Regions from separate parts of the Homo sapiens genome. Here region 1 is linked to region 2. Evidence: promoter capture Hi-C in human tissues and cell types (Jung and others, 2019). All regions are on one chromosome and are shown on one strand. Each heading gives the region's core, a stretch centred on a gene start or on the middle of the fragment in contact. The rest is flanking DNA. Distances are from core to core; before and after follow the strand shown.

Region 1 (5,152 bases), core at 435-2,934, 660 kb before region 2:
CAAGGCCCTACTCAAATCTACTCCCCATGACTATGAAGAATCTCATTTCTAACCATTTATTGACCCACTTCCAGTTTTAGCTAGGCCCACTTGCCTGTGTCCACTCTTTAGGCTCCTCCTCATCCTTGCCTTTTTGCCTGTGCCCTTGCCACTGGAACTTCCTGCCAAGGAATGTACACGCCTCCTCATGGGATCAGGAAGCCTTTTCTCTCTAGGGACAAGCCCTGTGGAACTCAGGGCCTCCCTCTGGAGCTTAGGAAACCATGGAACGTCTTTTTCTTCCTTGCCTATATTCTTTTCAGATGTCATTCCCTGAGCCATCAGAGACAAGGCTTAGCACTCTTTCTCTGTTAAAATCCCTGACCCAGCCTCTCAGTCATGGCCCCGTTTCCTAGGAGTTTAGCAAATGCTTCTACTGATACATAACATTTATCAAAGTCTTTCTCTTCAATGCCCTCTCAGAGGGTTGCTGGGATCATGGGTGCAAGTGGATGCAGAGAATGGTAGACTCAGCCCAGTCATTTTATTTTATTAGTCAGCTGAATTTAAGATTCAAAGCCCAGTCATTTTAGATTTAATTCTTGCCAAGCTATGCTATCAGATAAGATACCATCTATGCCAAACACTCTCTAACGGCTAGAGATAAAGAAGGAGGATTCTCTGTTTCTACAAATCTATCTAATTGCAGTAGCGTTTGCAGACAAGGATAGCTTAAATTTCCTGATCTATCACACAAATTCAAGTCCTATCGCCTAAGAGCTAAGACATAATGGCTGGTCACCACAGTGGAGAAAATGGCTCTTTGGGGGGAACGATGGCATAAGTCAATCAGATAGGACACACATGCATGCACGTAACCCCGATTCAGCGTGGTTCTCAGTAAACAGATGTGACAGCCACTTTGAAATGCTTTAAAATTTGTTCTAGTTAGAAAAGGCCTTGATATTGGATTAAATTGTAGATACAATGAAAGGAGCCCTATCTGGCCTGTCAAGAAGTCAGATGAACATTCTTTATACTCTACACTGAGTGCACAATGTGAGGCTGCTATGCAGTTGCAGGGTCTGAAGAGCCTAGCCTGCAAGGAAGGTCTGCTAGTGAGTTCTGGAAGTTCCAGGGTTAGGGGGATATTCCTTTGTTATAACCTTAGCTCCAGCTTTGAAAGTCCTAAAAAAGGCTCTCTGTTCATAAGGAGTGACAGTGAGCTCAGGATGCTCTGAACCTGGTGCACCAGAATTTGGAGGTCACCCTTGAGACTTCAGAGGGGTGGATAGGAGGGAAGAAGAGTGAAACAGACTCAAGTAGTGGATGACATGGCACAAAGGCACAAGTGGAAGTTCTGCCTGCTTTCTCTCTACCATGTGCCACAAAGGAGTTGAGGGAAATGAGTGAGGTGAGGGGATAGCACAAGCCCCAACATTCTGCTGAGATCTGGCAGGCACCAGCCTGAAGCCTTTCTCTGCCTATTGTACAAATCCCTTCAGTTTGTCCTCATGGTCAGGCATGGCTCTCTCTTCTCCCCACTTACCTGTGTAGTTTTCGGCCTGCAAGTGCATGTCACAAAGCTTATGGATGTAGCGGATATACATTTCTTCCTTGTTAATCTCAGATTTGTAAAAATTCTACAATAAAGAGAAGGAAACACCTGTCAACTACCTGTGGAAGCCATAGCCAAGCTCTGGGCAGCTGGCCATAGCCGTGGGTGTGCTGGGCAGGAGGGGGAGGGCAGGCCCTGGAGGCAGACAGCACCAGAAGGAGAAAGCACCAGCCAGAAGGAACACCTGCTGTGGGTGGAACCACTGGCAGGTCTATGGGAGCCCTGGGTAGTGTTAAGAGGAAAAGCATCAGGGCAGATCAGGAGTCAGGGTTGACTGTGAATTGGGTATGTCAGGGTTAGTGGGTCCTTGCCAAGAGGCCAGGCTAGAGTTCTATCCAAAGAGAAGCTCGTTTCATTCCTTCCCCAAGTAGGAATGTGTTTGGGGGAGTGCAGGCCTCTAAGATACCAGTAACAGAGCTGATGTCCTGATTCAAACCCTTAGGCCTGCAGCCATGTATTGTAGAAGGGCCAAGCCAATCACAGTGCAGGACAGAAACCATTTCAGTAGGCAGAGAGAAGTCAGGGCCCATGTCCTCTCACCATCAGGTTAACAGTGCAGCCTATCTTCTTATTCTCTGTTTCCTCTCCTTTCATGCAGTCCCTGGAAGAGAGAGCACAGATGAGCACCAGATATGAAGTGGGGCCTTGAGACAACACATAGAACTGTACTATCACTGGGGCATTAGTATGACCAAATCCCAGATTGAGATGGCCTCCAACAGGAACTGCTTCCATAGATAAGGACTCTACTGTGAGCTCCTTTAGCTTTGGAACCACTCTCAGGGCTCAAAGATCTCTGTTCAACTGAGCCCCTTATTCTGGTGGCAGAGCACAGAGAGAGCCCAGAGCTACATCAGGGTATTAAGTGGCACCTACCAATGTCCTTGGCACAAAAGGGTATATGAATTAAGTGGAAGGCCAAATCCTCAACTTCCCAAAAAGGGAGGCACAGAATTCTCCTTAAAGGGCAGGTTTCATTTTGTAGGAGTGCTGAATAGAAGCCAAGACCCTCCACTTCAGGGCCCTAGCTTCAGGGCTCTGTACATGTTCACCACCTAGTTGACATTTCTCCCTATGGTTTCCTTCCTGTGTACTAGTGTTTGGAGCCATCTATCACCAGAAGCAGCAGGTCTCGTGCTTAAAGCATCAGCCAGGACTGAGCTGCATTCATACCTAGCAGGGTCTGGGTGTAGGAGGGGTCAGGGATGGCCTGTGAGAGATAGGAAAATAGGAACACTGAGAATGGATCTTTTCCAAGATAGGGAGAGGGTTGGTCAAAGCCAAGCTCCTCTGGAAAGGAGCAGAAGCCTGGCACAAGGAGATGAAGGAGAATGAGAACCAGACTGGTGAATCCAGCAAGACATCTCCTATGCCAGCCAGAGTGCCATCTGCCTGATGTGTCTCCTTCCATAGCAGCCCACACTGCTATGGAGAAGATCTAGTTTCTTGTGCAGCTGTGTATTAGCAGCTCTGGGGAAAAGCTGCAGAAAGGGGTTTATACAGATTTCTAGGGTCAGGTTGGAGAGTGTCTTTGGCTTTGCTCCACTGGCAGGCACAGGGCCCAGTGAAGAGCAGTACAGCTGGGAGTCAGGGTCCCTAGGCCAAGTCACTGAGCCTCTGGATGGTCATTTGACAAACCCAGTTCTCCCCACCTTCCCATCATGCAGAGGAAGAACCTTGGGATGACTTCTTTGAAAGAAAAGGATGTTGAAAATCCATACTCCTCTCATGATATTCTGCAAAGCCAAATGTCCTTCCTGTGGAAGTCTCCTGTCAGAGTTGATAGGTTTGAGAGGTTTGGAACCAAGGCCCTCCTTTCTAGGGGGGTTTGACCTATCAGCACATTCACCACGTAAGATATTTGGTTCCTATGTAGCCAGACATGAGGGTCCTGAACATCCCTCTGCAGAACCTGTCCCTTTAGCGCTAGCAGAGCCAGGAAACTGCTTGACTTTTCGAGGAGTGAGGCTGAGGTCAGATGGCCAAGTTGTTCCAAGCAACCCACACAATGGTAGAAGGCATCTGTCTCCCCAGTAAGTTGGCCCCATGAAGGGCAGTGAGATTTTACCTAGCCACTTTGGCATTTAGTGATTTGTATTTTCTATAAAGCATCTGAAACATTTACCACGGATTAACTTCTATTTGGCCATAACCAGAACTTCATAGCTAAGTCCCTTAAACAGAAAGGAACTGGCCTCAACACTGTGATACCAGGGGCATCCTACACACTTCTGTGCTCTATGACTGCTTCTCCTCTGCACTGCTGACAGCAGACTCTTTTTTTGTGTACCTCTGCATCACTTCTGTGTGGCTACTTCATGGTGGATGCCTTTTAAAGTCTGACTTAGGTGCAGCTGTTGCTTTCCTCTTGCTCTTTCTCTGAAGGGTGAGCAGGGAAGACTCCAGAAAGAGGCTTCTGAAGCATCCGGCTCACCTGAGTAGTGGGCTGGCTGGGGACTACATCAGTGACCAGGAAGCCCTCATTGCAACCTGAGAGGCCTGGGAAAGGAAGGCTTCATAACCCTCAGTTGCCCATTCCAGGTAGAGGTTCCACTCTGAGCCACAAGGGCTTGGCAACTCTAGCTCTGTCCCTGTCTGTTCCAGGCACAAAAAAAAAAACAAAAAAACCCTTCTAGGGCTCTGCTTCCTAACCTGGGAAATATAGTTACTACCAGTGAGAATCTTCATGTCTGACACAGAGTGTCTGAGATTCACACAAAAGTTAAAGACATTGATATAAAAGTTGAAGAGGTATTCCTCTGAGTACCTAAAGTTTTGCCAGTCTAAAATTGAGTCTTACATAACAGGTTCAGGTAATTCTAGAGTACAATCTATTGATTATTTGTTTAATCAATGTATGTATTTTAAAACTTTGAACAATTATTTTTTCCTTTTTGTTTGATGTCCTTCCCTTGAGTCATATCAACAACTATTTTCTTTTTCTTTTCTTTTCTTTTTTTTTTTTTTTGAGACAGGGTCTCATTTTGTCGCCCAAGCTGGAGTTCAGTGGCGCAATCTCAGCTCACTGCATCCTCGACCTCCCCGGCTAAAGTGATTCGCCCACCTCAGCCTCCAAAGTAGCTGGGACCACAGGTGCATGTCACCATGCCTGGCTACTTTTCCAATTTTTCATAGAGATGGGGTTTCGCCATATTGTCCAGGCTGGTCTCAAACTCCTGAGCTTAAGCAATTTGCCTGCCTTGGTCTCCCACAGTGCTGGGATTACAGGCTTGTGCCACTGTGCCTGGCCAACAACTCTTTTCTTAGTAAGTTCTTGAACTAACTGCATTGAGGCAGAGGAAAAGAGTTGCTTGGTTCCTGCATGGTCTTTCCAACAAGTTTATCACTCATTATTTACTATGCACCTGCCAGGAGCTGGCCCCCATACAGGGGAACAGGGAGATAAGGACAAGGTTCCTATCCTCAAGGAGCTGGTCCTCTTTTGTAAGGTAAGACAGAATGACAAATGATCATCATTCAATGTGTGCACGGAAAGGTAAGCTCCTGGCTTGGGAAAGCTTCCTTAATAGGGGTGAGTTGGAAGACCACTCTTGG
Region 2 (5,053 bases), core at 1,026-3,525:
AACCACAGCTGCTATGAAAATGTCTTCAGTGTAACTGTCTCTCTCATTTAGCAAGCATTAAGCTCTGCCCTGAGCCCAATGCTGTGGCCCTCCAAAGGGAATAACAATTTTTCTAAAGCTAAAAACACAATCCTAGGAATGCAAGAATTTCGTTGCATCTTGCTGGGAAAATCACACACCAAATCCTAGTGCTTTGAGATTCACATGTACCTATCTTGATTACCTTGCACTGGCTCTGTCTCAGAACACACTTAGTGTTATTAGTCTAAATACTAAGGGAAAAGAAGAAACTATTAAGCATTCAGCACGTTCTCATTTCACTTTCACAATCCTGTAAGATAGGTAAACATTATCCCCAATTTATACATTAATAAAATGACGTTAAATGATGTTAAATTACTTGCCCACACCACCAGTAAAGAGAAGCTAGGACTCTGAATTCCACTTTGTCCACTATTCAAGGGCTCCTCCCCCCACGCCCCCACCCCCGCCAAAATAGGGCTCCTCCCCCCTCCAAAAAAATCAATCATGGGGTGCCACTGGAGAGTTGACCACTCACATCAATTATTTGTTATTCTAGTTCAGCAGTTCTGGGAGCGAGTTATGGAGAAGATAAACCACCAACTCCTCACTTCACAGAATCAACTCAGTATTCAGGGAATACTCTAAGAGAAGGGGTAAAATGTCCCTAGAGGTGAATCCCAGCTCTTCGCATCATTTCTCAATTCCTTCTCAATAGAGACTCTAGGACCAGAGCTCCCTTTATCACCTCCATCCTAACATACCTAATTGTTTCAGAAAGTTACCTTTTAAAACAAGATCTTCTACCAGAATAGAAGACCTCTCTGCTGGTCCTCGAATTTAAATAAATTCAATTTTCACACGATAACCTGCCTGATAGCATTCCAAAACATTCGTTACCACTGCAGTTTCAAGTTATTTTGTAGTGAATTGTGAACTAAATCTTGATTAAATTGCGGTAAAGATGGGAAACAAAAATCTATGTTTAGACAGGTTTCCTATCTAAAATTTTCCATTACGAGCTTAGGAAAAACAAAACCTGTACACTCAACATTTTAAATCTGTTTCTAACTGAACAAGATGATAGGTGATGCAATGAGGCTTAACTCTATCATGTAATTGCCACAAAACACTAACATTGTAAAACATTCAATACTTTAAATTACTGAATATTCTTTTTAAAGAAGTTGAATATTGTAAGAATTATTTAGCTTCTGGAGTTTAACACTTACAACATTAAAAAAAGGTTTCTAAGAGGAATAAGGTCTCATCTGAAAACAGGGTTTAAAAAAAAAACCGTATAAACATTGATACATGTCCAAAAACATTTCCCATCGTAAGGTATTATTTCTAATACTAAAGGCAAAACAAATTAAAACAGATCAAACATTTGCAGTCAAATGTCCAAATTTTTGAACTGGGAAAATGATGTCAACGTTTTTCATCCGTTTTCTTGTAAGGTTCCAGATCAAAAATAAACAGCCATCGGGCTCATCAATTCAGGTGCGGAAACTCATTAAAATCGAGCTTTTGGAGGGGAGAAAACATATTCCCAGAATTTGGTTTATCGGGTAAAATTGCCCCGTGGCCCACACCAGAAACCTCGGGCAACTGCCCGGGCCTTGCCCACCCCTCCCGCGGGCCGCACCTGCCAAGGCCGCACCGCCAGCGCCCCCTGCCGCCCTCTCTGCACAGAGACCCGCGCCCACCCCCGCACCCGCACCCGCACCCGCACCTGCCCCCACCCCGCGCTCGCCCCGCGCCGAGGCCGCGCAGCCTGCGGGCAGTGGCGGGGGCACGAGGATGCGAATCCAGGCGGGGCCGGGAGCTGGGCGCGTCCCCCAGAACCCCCGCCACGGCCAGGCCTGAGCCTCACCTACCTACGCCGTATTTCTCCTCCTCCGTGGGGGTCCACATGGCCGTGCCGGGCGCGGCCCCGCGGGCGCGGCGACCGGGCGACAACGCGGCGGGGACGGCCGCGGGCCCGGCTGTGGCGCACCGCGAGTCGAGGCGGGGACGGTCAGGCGGCGCGGGGCAGTGGGCGGCGCATCCCTCACAGGCCGTCCGGGATGCCGCCGCCACCCCCGCCACGTCTGGACCGCGAGGCTCCGCGGGTGGCCCAGCAGCCCCTGGCGGCGCGGGCGAAGGCTCGCCACCTGTCCGTCGCCGCTGCTCCCGTGCCGCCGCTTGCTTCTTCACAGCTCCGCCGCCCGGCTCCCGGCGCCGCCGCGGCTCGGCTCGCCCCAGCGGGCTCGCAGGACGCCCGCGCATGCGCCACTCCCTGCCGCGCAGGGGCTCGCGCTGCCCGGGCTCGCGCCGTCCCGAGCCCGCGCGCGAATCCACGCGCCGCTGCTGCGCGCCAGCGGAGGGAAATCCGCGAGAAGCTATTGGACTGCCCGGCCCCGGACCGGCTTCTAGAATCGCTGGTCCGGGGCCCTCAGCTGCAGCAAACCCCGGAGGGGGCGAAGCCGGTCAGGTGGGCGACTCCCTCTACCCGGACTCCCCACTCGCTTCCGCTTCCAGTGCCTCCTGCCTGCGCCCCGAGATGGCCACAGGCCTCCTGGTCGGAGAGGGGAGATCCAGAAAAGGAGGACACGACACCATTTTCAGACCCATCCCAGTGTCACCCACAGTGCTGTCGGAAAGGTCCCCGGAGCCACCCTGTGCATTCCCAGGGCCCGCAGGATGGAGTCGCCACGAGGGAACCAGGTGGGGTGCACTCGTGCCCCTCTCTCCTGGATCCCCTGTGGGCTGAGGCCGCTGACACCTCCTGGGTTCTTGCTTCTCTGAGATGGCCTGAGTGGTGAATGTTTGGGGCCAGAACAATCAACAGCCGCCTTGCTAGTAAGGAAGAGCTTCATTGGGCCCTTCGTGTTCCTACCCAGGACACGGCATCTGCTGCTCCTGGGTGTCTGCCTCCCTTGGAGCCCTAAGAACTGGCTCCTACCGGAAACTTTCCTCCTCTCTCTCCTCCCTAAGAATCCATTCATTCTGATGCCTGTAAATGTCACCTTGTGACCCCCAAGTCAACCACTTACCAAAGAACAGGAACTGCAGGACTTCTCCTTTCCACCTACATTTGGACCACATGCTCTAATCCCAGCAGATTTGCCCATCTCTGTCACTAGCACTACTAAGTCAAAACCCTGGTGTCATCCTTCACTAGCACTCTCAGACACCACCACTCTTCAAAGCCCAGCTCAGCCCCTCACCTCCAGGAAGCCTGCCCTGACCCATAGTCTCCTTTCCTTCTTTGTCTGGAATTGGAGCTATGTTCGGTTTGTCTTATTTCCCTTATAAGACTGTCAGCTCCCAGAAGGCAAGCTCCAGGCTAAAATCAACTTTCTAAACCCTCACCACCAACCCAGCACCTGTTGTATAGTTGTTGCATGGGAAGCCAGACTAATAGAAGAATATCTTGCAATCAACAGATCTTGTTGATTCTTCGTTCAAAGTGTCATGATTGGTAACTCCTCCCAGGCCTGACTGTGCTCCCCTGGGTTATGGCCACCCCTTCCCACCTTCGGACCTTTAGGCTCCTCCTCTCACTAATCATAGCTGCCCACTCCCGCCCAGAAAAATGTCTGTTCTGTGAATGATAGAATTTCTCAATAGCCAGGTACACTTCTTTTTAGGGGTAGCAGGGGTGTCCAAGAACATAACGAAAGAGCTAACTGTTCCAAGAAGATAGACCCCTCCCCGGTGGCCACCATGGAAGTATTCTATGGAATGAAGCCACATTCTTACAAAACTCTCCAGGTAGCTATTCAACAAGTGGGGCTGAGCTACGCAGGCCTTCAGGGAACAACCTTAAAGCTCTTATTTCATCCTCTAAGTTCACTCCCTTGTCTGCTGTATGTGATGACAGTCACAGAGCCTAAGGGCCAGTTTTTCCAAAGTTTATACTCTTGTTCCCAGTCTGAATCCATCTTAGATTATGGCTTTCCCAGATGAAGAAAATTCTCCATGATTGCACACCTCAGCTCCAGGGTGGAAGGGCATTAAACCCAACCAGGGAAGGGAAAAGAAGGGACCAAAGTGAGAAGGAAGGGACTTAGTAAGCCTGGACTCCTACACTCTTGCTGTTTGTATAAATTTAGATTGTTTTTGTGAGTTGAAGCAAAAGGGCATAGCACACATTGGCCTTCAGCAGGACCATGCACCTGCTCTCTTATCCCCCTAGCATCTGCTCTGATCCTTTCCTTCCTCAGGCTCCCAGTCCACTCAACACACCACACACACACTCTCTCAGCATATGAGCTGCCTTCCAGCTTGCCTCTGAAAATCGAGACCCTCAGCACAGTAACCTCCCCTCCTCTCCAACTGCTCTTCTTTGTGTTCTCGCCACCACCAGGCTCACTGCCTGCTACTTCTCAGGATCCCCAACTATCATTGCCCTGTCTCCCATTTTCACCCTGACCTGCTCCACAGACTCCTGCGGTCCCAGGAAGACCTGCCCTGTTGGTACCCTCATCCCCCCATTCCCTCTCTCTTCCTCCTCTCTCCATCTGACTACAGAGGAGAATCATCCATTCCAAATCCTTTTATTTCAATGTAATTCATTTGATTCTCACCACCTGAAGGTCTGCGTTCTGACCCTGTCACCTCCTGGAAACTACTTTCCCAGAATTCCCCAGGGCCATCCCAACTTCAGACCATTGCCTTGTTCTGGCTGGGTTTTTGCATAGAGTGTCCCTCAGCTTGTGTCCTCTACTCTTGAAACCCACACATCTGCATCATGCTTCAAGAGCTGTCTCAGGGCCACTTTCCTGAAGAAGGCTTCCCCAACTGCCCTCAGTTCAGCTGGATTTTTTGCACCCATTATGACCTTTTCTGTAGCACTTACTCATTCCACCCTTCTCCAAGAGATCAAATGGGTCTGCTTCTCACATTGGCAAACATCTGTTTTTTTCTTCAGTGACAAGGATTGTTCTTCAATTATTTTTACCTTACACAGAGACTAACATAGTGCCTACCACCTAACATGAATTTAACATACACTCTTGGGTGAATAATCTCCCTGTACGTTTTC

What was found. The method cuts DNA at HindIII sites, captures the fragments that hold promoters and counts their contacts. A contact is called where the count stands out against the background at its distance.
Region 1: a contact is called between a fragment that was not itself captured here and the fragment with the promoter of DOCK3 in region 2, in 1 of the 25 tissues and cell types used here (spleen).

What each region holds. Positions count from the first base shown.
Region 1 is chr3:51,335,405-51,340,556 of GRCh38, reverse strand. It overlaps DOCK3 (dedicator of cytokinesis 3), which reads right to left. Exons shown (of 53, transcript NM_004947.5): 36 at 2,138-2,198; 37 at 1,529-1,622. Among named protein-coding and RNA genes, the nearest start is that of MANF, 47 kb to the left of the region's middle. RefSeq lists an enhancer at 1-688. The HindIII fragment of the contact is 3,312 bases long and covers 29-3,340 here.
Region 2 is chr3:50,672,149-50,677,201 of GRCh38, reverse strand. DOCK3 (dedicator of cytokinesis 3) reads right to left here and starts at 2,275. Exons shown (of 53, transcript NM_004947.5): 1 at 1,902-2,275. The coding sequence starts at 1,938. MIR4787 (microRNA 4787) reads right to left here and starts at 2,122; the gene lies at 2,039-2,122. RefSeq lists a silencer at 2,022-2,311. The HindIII fragment of the contact is 18,901 bases long and covers 1-5,053 here.